Regions from separate parts of the Homo sapiens genome. Here region 1 is linked to region 2. Evidence: promoter capture Hi-C in human tissues and cell types (Jung and others, 2019). All regions are on one chromosome and are shown on one strand. The core of a region is centred on a gene start or on the middle of the fragment in contact, and the rest is flanking DNA. Distances in the headings are between cores, read along the strand shown. Region 1 overlaps ABHD8 (abhydrolase domain containing 8). Region 2 holds the start of NR2F6 (nuclear receptor subfamily 2 group F member 6).

Region 1 (6,831 bases), core at 648-3,147, 55 kb before region 2:
AGAATCCAGGGTGCCAAGGAGGAAGTTCAGAGTCTAGCTTCCTCTCAGAGTGTCTGGGCCTCAGCTTGGCCCTCTATGAAACAGACCCCGGCTCACCCCGGTCTAGGGGAGCTGAGCAAGGCTTTCTGTGGCTCAGTCCCCATCCCCCTCTCCTAGGGCCTCACCTTTCAGGAGTCAAATTCAGAGCCAGGAGCCTCACTGGGGGCTCACCAAAGATTTGCATATTTTAGATGCCTTAGGAGGCCCTGGGGATATGTGAGTTAGTGAGTGCATACCTGGATGAGTTAGTGAGTTAGTGTATACCTGAATGAATGAGTTAGTGTATACCTGAATGGATGAGTTAGTGTATACCTGAATGAATGAGTTAGGAGGCCATAAATGGTATAAACTCCAGCTGGGGGGAGGGGGTGTCTTCCGGCTGGTCCACATTTGCCACAATGTCCCCTTCTCCAGGAACATCCCCACACAAGACGCCACCACCTTCCCTGTGGACACCCTGTGGGGTAAGCCATAGCCAAGTCTTTCTCTCTGAGGATAGACTAGGGTGACCCAGGAGGGTAACTACCACAAAGGCACTGCTCAGACAAAACATGTCAGTGCACGGTGGCTCACACCTATAATCCCAGCACTTTGGGAGGCCGAAGCAGGAGGAAAATTTGAGGTCAGGAGTTCAAGACCAGCCTGGCCAACATGGTGAAACCCCATCTCTACAAAAAATACAAAAATTAGCTAGACATGGTGGCACCTGCCTATAATCCCAGCTACTCAGGAGGCTGAGGCAAGAGAATCGCTTGAACCCAGGAGGGGGAGGTTGCAGTAAGCCGAAATCCGGCCACTGCCCTCCAGCCTGGATGACAAAGCGAGACTGTCTCAAAAACACACACACACACACACACACACACACACACAAACAAAAAAATCTCAGTGCCGTGGCTCACTTGATCTGGCGCTCCCCAAACTGGAGTCTAAAACAGTTCTCCCAAGGCTCAGGGAGTGCCTGCTGCACGGTGCAGGGTTCTCATTGAGACAGCACCTGAACTGGCTGCTGTCCTCACTCACAGGACACACCATGCTGACCGGGGTGACCGACGGTATCTTCTGTTGCCTGCTGGGCACGCCCCCCAACGCCGTGGGGCCACTGGAGAGCGTCGAGTCCAGCGATGGCTACACCTTTGTAGAGGTCAAGCCCGGCCGCGTGCTGCGGGTGAAGCATGCAGGACCCGCCCCAGCCGCTGCCCCACCTCCACCATCATCCGCATCCTCGGATGCAGCCCAGGGGGACCTCTCCGGCTTGGTCCGCTGTCAGCGCCGGATCACCGTGTACCGCAATGGGCGGTTGCTGGTGGAAAACCTGGGCCGAGCCCCTCGAGCCGACCTCCTACACGGGCAGAATGGCTCTGGGGAGCCGCCGGCCGCCCTGGAGGTGGAGCTGGCAGATCCGGCGGGCAGCGATGGCCGCTTGGCCCCCGGCAGCGCAGGCAGCGGCAGCGGCAGTGGCAGTGGTGGGCGGCGGCGGCGAGCCAGGCGCCCCAAGAGGACCATCCATATTGACTGTGAGAAGCGCATCACTAGCTGCAAAGGCGCCCAGGCCGACGTGGTGCTCTTTTTCATCCATGGTGTCGGCGGTTCCCTGGCCATCTGGAAGGAGCAGCTGGACTTCTTTGTGCGCCTAGGCTATGAGGTGGTGGCTCCTGACCTGGCCGGCCACGGGGCCAGCTCTGCGCCCCAGGTGGCCGCAGCCTACACCTTCTATGCGCTGGCTGAGGACATGCGAGCAATCTTCAAGCGCTATGCCAAGAAGCGAAATGTGCTCATTGGCCATTCCTACGGGTAAGTGAACCCTGGCATGTGGGGTGGGGGTGAGGGATGGGGTCAGCAGGGACTACAGTCACAAAATACTGAGTTTTTGGCTGAGCCCCGTGGCTCACGCCTGTAATCCCAGCACTTTGGGAGGCCGAGGCAGGCGGATCACCTGAGGTTGGGAGTTCGGGAACAGTCTGGCCAAGGTGGTGAAACCCCGTCTCTACCAAAAATACAAAAATTAGCCAGACGTGGTGGCACGCGCCTGTAGTCCCAGCTACTCGGGAGGCTGAGGCAGAGGAATCACTTGAACCGAGGAGGTGGAGGTTGCAGTGAGCCGAGATTGTGTCACTGCACTCCAGCCTGGGCGACAGAGGGAGACTCTGAGATGCCACTGACACCTGTAATCCCAGTGCTTTCGGGGGCCAAGGCGGGAGGATATCTTGAGGCAAGGAGTTTGAGACCAGCCTGGGCAACATAGGGAGAACCCCCTAGCTCTACAAAAAGTACAAACATTAGCTAGGTGAGGAGGTGCACGCATATAGTTCCACCTACTTAAGGGCTGAGGCAGGAGATTGCTTGAGTCTGGGAGGTCGAGGCTGCAGTGAACTGTGATCACACCACTGCACTCCAGCCTGGGCAGCATGGCAAGAACCTGTCGCTCTTTAAAAAAGAAAAAAAAATCCGGGCGCGGTGGCTCACGCCTGTAATCCCAGCACTTTGGGAGGCTGAGGCGGGCGGATCACGAGGTCAGAAGATTGAGACCATCCTGGCTAACACGGTGAAACCCTGTCTCTACTAAAAATACAAAAAATTAGCTGGGTGTGGTGGTGGGCACCTATAGTCCCAGCTACTCGGGAGGCTGAGGCAGGAGAATGGCATGAGCACGGGAGACGGAGCTTGCAGTGAGCCAAGATCATATTGTGCCACTGCACTCCAGCCTGGGCGACAGAAGGAGACTCCGTCATGAAAAAAAAAAAAGGGGCCACCACGCGCGGTGGTGCACATTTGTAATCCCAGCACTTTGTGGATGGATCATTGGAGATGAGTTTGGACAACATGGCAAAACCTTATCTCCTAAAACAAAACAAAGCAAACAAAAATCCTAATTTTTCTCCTTGAAAAAAATCCCATTTTTCAATTTAATTTTTACATTTTTAAAATTTTTTTTTCTTTTAAATAGAGATGGCATCTCACTATGTTGCCCAAGATGTTCTTTAACTACTGGGCTCAAGTGATCCTTGCACCTCAGCCTCCCAAAGTGCTAGGACTACAGGTGTGAGTCATTGTGCTCAGCCTTAATTTTTTTTTTTTTTTTTTTTTTTGAGATGGAGTCTCACTCTGTCCCCCAGGCTGGAGTGCAGTGGCGTGATCCTGGCTCACTGCAAGCTCCACCTCCCAGGTTCATGCCATTCTCCTGCCTCAGCCTCCCTAGTAGCTGGGACTACAGGCACCCGCTACCATGCCTGGCTAATTTTTTGTCTTTTTAGTACAGACGGGGTTTCACCGTGTTAGCCAGGATGGTCTCGATCTCCTGACCTCGTGATTCGCCCTCCTCGGCCTCCCAAAGCGCTGGGATTACAGGCGTGAGCCAACGCACCAGGCCAATTTTCAAGTTCAAAAAAAAATTATATAGAGAATGGGGGGGGGGTCTCATTATGTTGCCCAGGCTGGTCTTGAACTCCTGGGCTCAAGCCATCCTCCCTCCTTGGCCTCCCGATGTGGTGGGGTAACAGGCATGAGCCGCTATACCAGGCTGAAAACTCCCATTAGCATATGTAATCAGACAGGGATTTCCGTCATCACTGATATTGTTTCACATTGTTCTAAAGCAGTGTTGCTCAGGCCAGGTGCAGTGGCTTACGCCTGTAATCCTAGCACTTTAGGAAGCCAAAGCAGGCAGATCACTTGAGGTCAGGAGTTCAACACCAGTTTGGCCAACATGGTGAAACCCCATCTCTACTAAAAGTACAAAAAATTAACCAGGCATGATGGTGTGTGCCTGTAATCCCAGCTACTCGGGGGTGTGAGGCAGGAGAATCACTTGAACCTGGGAGGCAGAGGTTGCAGTGAGCCAAGATCACACCACTGCACTCCAGCCTGAGCAACAGAGTGAGACTCTGCCCAAAAAAAAAAAAAAAAAAAAAAAAGCAGTGTTGTTCAATCCCAGCACTATCGTGTTTGGCCAGGTTATTTTTTTTCTGTGAGGGGCTATAGGATGTTTAGTAGCATCCCTGGCTTCTGCCCACTGGATGCAACTACACAATCTAGTGTTGATCATGACAGTCAAAAATGTCTTCAGTAGTTGCCAAGCGTGCCCTGGTGGGCAGAATTACCCCCAGCTGAGAACCACTGCCTTAGACTAAGTTAAAAAATCAACTGCCCTGGAGAACACTGTGCATTCAGGAAGCGCTCATCGGAATCCTGTAAATTCTAGGCATTTACAAAGGCATGGGTTACTGTAATTCACTCCTGCTTAAAGGGCAGGTAATACAACCTAAAACTTACCAAGAACCCCTCCATGGAAGGCTTGGTCCCCAGGGCTTGACCACTACCAAGTGGCCTCATTCTCTCCTTTATCCAGGAAGAAAGGCAAGATTGAACAGCCAGGCAAGTTGAGCACCACTGTTTTAGAGATTCTAGCCTATGCAATTAGACAAGAAAAAAAGGCCAGGCGTGGTGGCTCACACCTGTAATCCCAGCAATTTGGGAGGCCGAGGCGGGCGGATCAGGAGGTCAGGAGATCAAGACCATCCTGGCTAACACGGTGAAACCCCGTCTCTACTAAAAAATACAAAAAAAAATTAGCCAGGCATGGTGGCAGGCGCCTGTAGTCCCAGCTACTCAGGAGGCTGAGGCAGGAGAATGGCGTGCACCCAGGAGGTGGAGCTTGCAGTGAGCCGAGATTGTGCCACTGCACTCCAGCCTGGGTGACAGAGTGAGACTCCATCTCAAAAAAAAAAAAAAAGAAAAAAGAAAAATAAATAAGTGGCCAGGTGTGGTGGCTTACACCTATAATCCCAACACTTTGGGAAGCTGAGGTGGGAGGACTGCTATAGCTGAGGAGTTCAAGACCAACCTGGGCAACATAAGCAAGATCTCATCTCTACAAAAAACTAAAAAGTAAAAAAAAAAAAAAAAGAAAAGAAAACAAAGAAGTTACATAAGTATCTAAAAGAAAGGAATCTAGACTGAGAGGTAACAGCTCTTATTTGTTTATATTTCTTTATATAACATACTCAAAAGTTGATGCTTATGAGAAATGATTCCTCTAATTAAATGAGCACCCACCTGCTGGGCACAGTGGTTCACACCTGTAATCCCAGAACTTTTGGAGGCCGAGGCAGGCGGATCACAAGGTCAGGAGTTCAAGACCAGCCTGGCCAAAATGGTGAAACCCCGTCTCTAATAAAAATACAAAAAGTAGCTGGGTATGGTTGCAGGTGCCTATAATCCCAGCTACTTGGGAGGCTGAGGCAGGATAATCATTCGAACCCATGAGGTGGGGGTTGCAGTGAGCCGAGATCGCACCATTGCACTCCAGCCTGAGTGACAGAGCAAGACTCTGTCTCGAGAAAAAAACAAAAAAACAAAAAAAACACCCACCTACAATAGTTCCCATGACCCCATAACAGTGCTATTAGGTCAGCACATTTACAACTTCAGGAATGTGGAGGCTGAAGCTCAGAGAGGTGAAGCAACCTGCCCAAAGGCATACAGGAAGTCCCTGACACAATCAGGTCTGCCTGACTCCTGTCTGTATCCTTTCCTCATTACAGCAGGGGCTGGCAAACATTTCCTTAAAGGATCGGATAGCGAATATTTTAGGTTTGCAGGCCATACAGTCACTGTTGGAACTTCTGATAAAACTTTATTTAGGAAACATTTTTTGGCCAGGCACGGTGGCTCACGCCTCTAATCCCAGCACTTTGGGAGGCCAAGGTGGGCAGATCACCTGAGGTCGGGAGTTCAAGACCAGCCTGACTAACACGGTGAAACCCCGTCTCTACTAAAAATACAAAAATTAGCCGGGCATAATGGCAGATGCCTGTAATCCCAGCTACTCGGGAGGCTGAGACAGGAGAATCACTTGAACCCGGGAGGCGGAGGTTGCAGTGAGCCGAGATCGCGCCACTGTGCTCCAGCGTGGGCAACAGAGCAGGACTCCATCTCAAAAAAAAAAAAAAAAACCTTATTTAGGAAACATTTTTCAAATCTCCAAAAGTGTAAACTGTATTTAAAAAAGCAAATGACTAGCCCACAGGCCGTACATAGTTTGTTGACCCCTGCTTTTGTAGGAATGAGGAGCTCAGCTTTGGGGGCTTCTCAGGCCTTCCATCTTGTATAAGGAAGACAGATATGTCATGCCCAGAGGCAGGTGGCAGAACATCCTGAAAGGGAAGGGATAGTAGGAAACAGTGACCTCCCCTGGGCAGCCGGAAGCATTTGTTTAATCAGATTGCTTTCCTACCACTTGCTGATGAGTAATTCTTACCGCTTTTGGGTCATGGTGGCTTGAAGAATCTGATGAGGGCCGGGCACAGTGGCTCATATCTATAATCTTAACACTTTGGAAGGCCAAGGTGGAAGGATCACTTGAGCCCAGAAGTTCAAGACCAGCCTGGGCAACATAGTGAGACCCCCATCTCTACAAAAATTTTAAACAATTAAAATAAAAAGTCTGGTGAAACTTCTGGATCCAGATTCTCTCTTCAAAATAAGTTCCATCCTCAACACTCAAACTCACACTTTCACGGTATTTGAGAGGCCGCACTCATCCCTCACCCCTTCAGGTGTCCATGGACCCCAGGGGAAGAATCTTGGCTTCCAAGGACCTGCCTTCTGGGTAGGGGGAGGACATGAACCCCCTCACCAGGCCGGGTGTCACGGCTCACGCCTATAATCCCAGCACTTTGGGAGGTTAAGGCCAGAGGATCACTTGAGCCCAGGAGTTCAAGACCAGCCTGGGCAACATAAGGAGACCCTGTCTTTATAAAAAAATTTTTAAAAATTAGCTGAGCATGGTGGCAC
Region 2 (6,315 bases), core at 408-2,907:
ATCCCTTCTGAGACCTCCACCCCAATGCTCCCCACCAAAGATCCTAGCAGGTCCAGGCAAGGGGCCTAGGATCCCTGCCCTCATCCCAAATTACCAGTCACATTCCCATGCAGCCTCAGAACCAAAGGGTCGTCTCTGCCCACCCACGCCTTCCTCTCTCCCAGCAGGGATTACATCAGGCTGTGGGCAGAACCCGACTCTAGACCTCGGGAAGTCCTTGCTCATGTCTAATCCTAGTCCTTCCTGCTTTTCGTGTTTACTAACGCCTCCTCCTCCACCTCCCAGGCAGCCAGAACGTCCCTGGAGCAGGTTGAGAGGCCCAGGGCTGGGTGTGCCTGGCTCTCCCAGAACCTCAGTTTCTTTTTAAGTGTTGTAAGATCTCTAAGAATCTTTCCCCCTACTCCAGGGAGGGCAATTCTTCAAGTCTCATCAGGGCTCTGGGAGGCAGAGGAGGGGGTGCGCAGAAGGCACTGTCCTGGCCAGAGCTCTCAGAGGCCCAGCTGCATGCTCTGGTGTCCAGCTCTGGGCTCAGGGCGGGGTGGGACCACAGTCTGGGTGGCTGGGGCTGCAAGACTCCGAGGTGAAAGGTCACTCCTGGAAGGGCTTGTCCAGCCGGTTAAAGGTTAACCTGCCCAGAGCCAGAGGCTCGCCAGCCCGGGCCTCGCATACAAAGGGTGCTTAATAAATGCTGGTCGGGCGGGCCCCAGCCCCGGTACTGGGGGATGGGGTGAGTTGGAGGTGGCGGCAGCTGCGAGGCTCCAGGGCGCCTGGAAGAGACATCTGCAGTCCAGCCGGCCGCCAGGCCAAGCCCTTTCTGCAAAGCACAGAAAGAAAAGGAAATTAAAAGGGAAAAAGGGGCAGGCCCCCAGACAGGGCATGCCTGTCGCCTCCAGCCGCGCGGGGCGGGTGGGCGCCCTGCCCCCGGAGGCCAGAAATTCTGCAGAGGGGCCCCCTGACCTCGCGGCCCCGGCCAGCCGGTCTCAGACCACAACATCCCTTCCCCCTGGAGATTCCGGGCACCAGGTGTTAACCCGAGCAGAGAAAGGGTGGGGTGGGGGTCAGACGCGGCGACTTTCTGGAAGAGGAAGCAAACACAATCTAGGGTGTGTGTGTGTGTGTGTGTGTGTGTGTGTGTGTGTGTGTCTGTCTGTCTCGCGCGCGCGTGTGTCTTGCGCAGGGGCGTACCCCCCCCCCGGGTGCCACTGGCCCCCCATCATTGCTTTGCCAGGAACTGTGGGGTGGGGAGAGGTTCCGAGGGGCGCCTCGAGGGTGATCGAGCGACCCAACGTCCAAGGCCAGAGGTGGAGGGGAGGGCCTTGGAGAGACATCTTGGCGAGGCTCAAGGAAGGGCAGAGGGCAGGCGCGGCTGAGGCTCCCGCCGCGGCCCGGCAGGGGTTAAGGCCCGAGCTGGGCGAGGGCGAGGGCGGGGGTGCGGGGGGAGGGGCAGAGGGAGGCGGGGGAGGGTCAGGCCCCGCGGCCCAGCGCTCGGCCCCCGTCCCTCCCGCCGGCCCGTTCGCCCGGCGCCGCGCGCGGCCACCCATGCCCTTATAAGGGCGGCCGTCGCCGGGGCAACGAGCGCCCGCCCCCAGCCCGCGGCGCGCGCCCCTGCCCCCGCCCCCGCCCCCCGCCCGCCCCGCGAATGGAACGCTGTGTGTCAAACCGGCCGCAGCGCGAGGCCGGCGCGCGGGGTCGGTGGCGGTGGCGGCGGCGAGAGCGAGGCTTGGGCCCAGGCGCAGGCCCAGGCCAGGCAGGAGCGGCCGCAGCGGGGGCGGCAGCTCCAGAGGCGCCGGCCCAGCGGCCCTGCAGGCCCGGAGCGGCAGCCGCGGGCGCCGGGGGACCCAGGGGGCGCGGCGATCAGCCCCGGCGCGCACCCGCCGCCCCTCCCCCCCCGCCACGGGCGGCCGCGCAACTTGCGGCCAAACTTTCCCCCCGGCCTCCCGCGCTCGGATGGCGGCCCGCTGAGTTGGCCGCAGCCCCCGGGCGAGCGGCGGCCAGGCCAGAGGACGCCCCCTGCGCGGCTCGGGCCGGGCCATGGCCCGCGCGCCCCCGCCGGGGCCCCAGGGCGGCGGGACGCGAGTCCTCTGGGCCCCCGGCCCGCGCCTCTAGCGTGCCCCTCCCGGCCCCGGGCCCGGCCCCGCGCACGCGTGGGAAAGTTGGCCTGGAACCGGCCCGACCAGTTCCGCCCGGGCGCGAGGACCGGCCGCAGGAAGTTGCTGCAAAACTTTTTTGGGGGGTGCAGCCCGTGCCCCCCGCGCGCCGGGGCCGAATGCGCGCCGCGTAGGGTCCCCCGGGCCGAGAGGGGTGCCCGGAGGGAAGAGCGCGGTGGGGGCGCCCCGGCCCCGCTGCCCTGGGGCTATGGCCATGGTGACCGGCGGCTGGGGCGGCCCCGGCGGCGACACGAACGGCGTGGACAAGGCGGGCGGCTACCCGCGCGCGGCCGAGGACGACTCGGCCTCGCCCCCCGGTGCCGCCAGCGACGCCGAGCCGGGCGACGAGGAGCGGCCGGGGCTGCAGGTGGACTGCGTGGTGTGCGGGGACAAGTCGAGCGGCAAGCATTACGGTGTCTTCACCTGCGAGGGCTGCAAGAGCTTTTTCAAGCGAAGCATCCGCCGCAACCTCAGCTACACCTGCCGGTGAGCCCCCCATCCGCGCGCCGCCGCCGTGCACCCCGCCCCGACCTGGGGCAGGCCTCTGACCTGCTCGGTCACCTTGGGCCTGGCGCTGACCTTCCCTGGGCCTCCACTGCCCCCTCTGAGATAGGGGCACAGCACCCTCCTCCCGCATTCCATGGCTGGGATTGTGTATACAGTCGGCGCTACATCGTTGCAGGTTCCCCCCCCATCAGGTGGTCCCTGGAGGCTTTTGCCCCAGTTACTTGCTTCTCCTTCCCTCCGCTTTTTCTCTGGGGAGGGGTCATCTCCGCGCTGGGGTGGGGGTAGGGGTGCTGTCAGGGGTGGTAACCCAACCCCAGGGCACCCGTTCTCGGGGATCCCGGCGCGCGGGATGCCCTCGAGGGAATCGAACGTGGAACTTGGACCGTGGAGCTCGCAGCGTCCAGGGGCCATTGTCTGCGGCCGCGCGGATCGATACGGCGCGCCCTTGGGGTCAAATATCACTTCCAAAGTCGCTGTGGCTACGGAGGCGGCAGACGGAGGGAGGCTGGGGTGGCACGGGGCGGCCTTCTTCGCATGAGGGGCCCAGCGGTGGGGGTGGGGGTGGGAGCTGGGCTTGCCCATCTCAGGGAACCCCTCTGGGCTCACTCTGGGCCTTGGGTCACCGGAAATCGCCACTGGAAGGCCGGCAGGGCCACCGGAATTGACTGAAACGTCCCTCTCCCCCAGGGGTGGGTGCAGACCTGGGGCTCCTGGAAAAATCCCTCAAACTTTGGGTGTCTCTGAGACGGGCAGGGAGTGAAACGTTTCCGAGCAGGAGCCTTGGGCTGTCCCAGGTCGGAGACCTCTCTGGCAGGGCGTGGCCTTGCTAGCTGTTCTGGCGGAAGGTCCCCAGGGAAAGCGATCGGGGTTGTCCAGCCCGGGAGTTCTTTTCTCACCGTTCCCGGGCGAGCATCCGATCTGTCCGTTTATAAGCCCCTACTCTGCACCCCAGGAACATGCAGGGTCTCTGTGGAGCCCGTCTAGACGGTCTCAGTTCCCAGCTGCCCAAAACAGAGGCCCAAAGGCCCAGAGAGAGGTCCTGGTGCCTGCTTTGCGTTGGACATGGAGGGACGCTGCCCGAGTTGGGGGCACTGTGGGGGAACTGTGGGGCTAGGGTGGGGACCGCTGAGTTCGGATCGGAGTGGCCCCAGGGAGAACGGCTGATGGAAGGCTTGTTGGCTGAGGCCACCAAATAGGGCCCCAGGTACCCGAGGGTGGAGTTTGGCCCCAGGTCCCGGGTCAGGGCTGGCCTGGTGTGGCCATGTGTGGCAGAGCTGCCTTGCTCCCTCCTCCAGCACAAAGTGGGCCACTAGACTTTGGCCTCATTCTTGCTGCTGGAAAACCGCCTGCTCTCTGGTCATATCTTTAGGGAGGGTAAGGGAGGGGGGCTCAGGCAGTTTTGGGGTCCCAGGAGCTTCCTGAGGGTGGTGTCAGGGAGCAGCAATTTTGGGTGGGGGGGGCCTTGCTTGGAGCTGACAGGTTTGTGCTGTGTCAGTTGTGTGACCTGGTGAAATCACCATTCCATTCTGAGCTTCAAATGGATTGAGCAGGGTCTCGCTGGGGCCCAGCCTGGGTAGTTTGATGCCAGCCCCTCCAGAGAGACCCCAGCTCCAAGTCTAGCTCCTGAGAAGCCCCCAGTCTGGAGGAGACACAGTGAGACAGATGCCCCAAGTCTGTGGGATCTGGGGTCCCAGGGAGAGAGCAGAGGCTCTGCCTGGAGGTCAGAGAGGGCTGCCTGGAGGAGGCTAGGGGACATGAGCCTTGAAGCATGGAGTTGGCAGGTGGAAGAAAGGCCACAGGGACATGCCAGAATGTGGTCCAGACAAAACACTTAGTGGCAGACTGGGGGAGCTGTGCTGTAAGAGGGGGACTGTGCAGCCATGGGAGAAGTCAGAGCTAGGTGGGCCTGAAATGCTGGCTGAGGGTAATGGGGAGCCATAGAGGGTGTGTGAGCAGGAGAGGGCTCTGATCAAATTGGACTGGAGGCCAGAAGCCCAGGGAGGAAGCTGAGTTGGGCCATGGGGTTGGGCAAAAAAGCTTGCACTCTTTAGGTGGGATAACAGGAAGAACTTAACTGTTTCCCTCCTTGGAGGGATGGATCTGTCCCAATTCCACAGCTGGGGAAGTTGAGACTGAAGGTTCAGGGCCTCCCCTGAGGTCAGGGGCCCCTGAGCTGGGCCTCTGCCTGCCTGCAGGGCCGCCCCAGGCCAGGCCGTTTCCACCCGGCTGCCCTGGACCCTCCCACCACCCAGCCGCTGGGCTTTGTTCTGGTTCTGCCTGAGCTCCCTCTGCCCTAGTGGGGCCTCTTCCCAGGGGCTCAGTGGCTGGTGCTGCAGGACCCAGGCAGTGGTGGAGGGGGGGTACGGGGGAGTGGGCGCAGATCCTCAGCTTTCCTAAGTTGGGTTCTCCGGCTGGGCTCTGGGTCTTGGCACTGTCCCCCGTGAACCCCTCTGACCCAGTCCATCCCATATGATAGGGCAATATCTGACCTCCCATTTTCAGATGAGGAAACCGAGGCTCAGTGGGGCAGTCGCCACCTGAGGGGCAGGGCTGGGTATCTGCAGCTGAGATTCATCTGTTTTGTTTTGTTTTGTTTTGTTTTTGAGACGGAGTTTCACTCTTGTTGCCCAGGCTGGAGTGCGATGGCGTGATCTCAACTCACTGCAACCTCTGCCTCCCGGGTTCAAGCGGTTCTCCTGCCTCAGCCTCCCAAATAGCTGGGATTACAGGCATGCGCCACCATGCCCGGCTAATTTTGTATTTTTAGTAGAGACAGGTTTTCTCTATGTTGTTCAGGCTGGTCTCAAACTCCCAACCTCAGGTGATCCGCCCGCCTCGGCCTCCCAAAGTGCTGGGATTACAGGCATGAGCCACTGCACCCAGCCTTTTTTTTTTTCTTTTTTTTTGAGACAGAGTCTCACTCTGTCACCCTGGCTGGAATGCAGTGGGTCAATCTTGGCTCACTGCAACCTCCACCTCCCCAGTTCAAGCGATTCTCCTTCCTCAGCCTGCCAAGTAGCTGGGATTACAGGCATGCGCCACCACGCCCAGCTCATTTTTGTATTTTTAGTAGAGACGGGGTTTCACCATGTTGGCCAGGCTGGTCTTGAACTGACCTCAGGTGATCCACCCTCCCCCGCCTCCCAAAGTGCTGGGATTACAGGCGTGAGCCACTGCAGAGATGCATCTGTTTAATTCCCTTAAGTGGTGGTTCTACTCTGTGACTGTCTCTGTGTGTCCCCTGGGTGTCCAGCTGGAACCCCAGGGGTAGTTGCTCCAGGCCCAGGCCTTGGAGAGCCCCCAGCTCCTGGTGGCAAGAGACCAGGGGAGTCCAAGGGCAGGGGCCAAGGGGAGAAGGTTCTGGGGACATTTGAAGAATAAGGCCTGGACCTTCCTGCTTGGGGGCTGACCCAGGATGGGGAGCTCACCACCTCTCAGGGTGGGGCCACCTGTCTCATCCCTGCAAGAGGCAACGGCATTCACTGAGGGCTGACCAGGAAAATCTCCAGCTTGCATAGGGGTTGGGTGGTCCTCTCGGAAGAGCGTAGGTGTGGGGCCTTCAGGGCTGAGGACCAGAGTGACTTTGTTTACTTCCTCATTCCTTGGGGTGGGCATTGTGCGGGTGATAATGCTGGGGCCCCACAATGCTATGACCCCACAG

What was found. The method cuts DNA at HindIII sites, captures the fragments that hold promoters and counts their contacts. A contact is called where the count stands out against the background at its distance.
Region 1: a contact is called between a fragment that was not itself captured here and the fragment with the promoter of NR2F6 in region 2, in 4 of the 25 tissues and cell types used here (dorsolateral prefrontal cortex, lymphoblastoid cells, spleen and 1 more).

Annotation. Positions count from the first base shown.
Region 1 is chr19:17,295,855-17,302,685 of GRCh38, reverse strand. It overlaps ABHD8 (abhydrolase domain containing 8), which reads left to right. Exons shown (of 5, transcript NM_024527.5): 2 at 1,062-1,830. The coding sequence starts at 1,070. It also overlaps a transcript of MRPL34 not described here. Among named protein-coding and RNA genes, the nearest start is that of ABHD8, 4.2 kb to the left of the region's middle. RefSeq lists a silencer at 72-366 and enhancers at 724-1,224, 1,225-1,725. The HindIII fragment of the contact is 7,858 bases long and covers 1-5,826 here.
Region 2 is chr19:17,241,261-17,247,575 of GRCh38, reverse strand. NR2F6 (nuclear receptor subfamily 2 group F member 6) reads left to right here and starts at 1,657. Exons shown (of 4, transcript NM_005234.4): 1 at 1,657-2,633. The coding sequence starts at 2,356. RefSeq lists silencers at 937-1,016, 1,417-1,666, 2,067-2,226, 2,237-2,306 and an enhancer at 724-1,673. The HindIII fragment of the contact is 6,638 bases long and covers 1-1,791 here.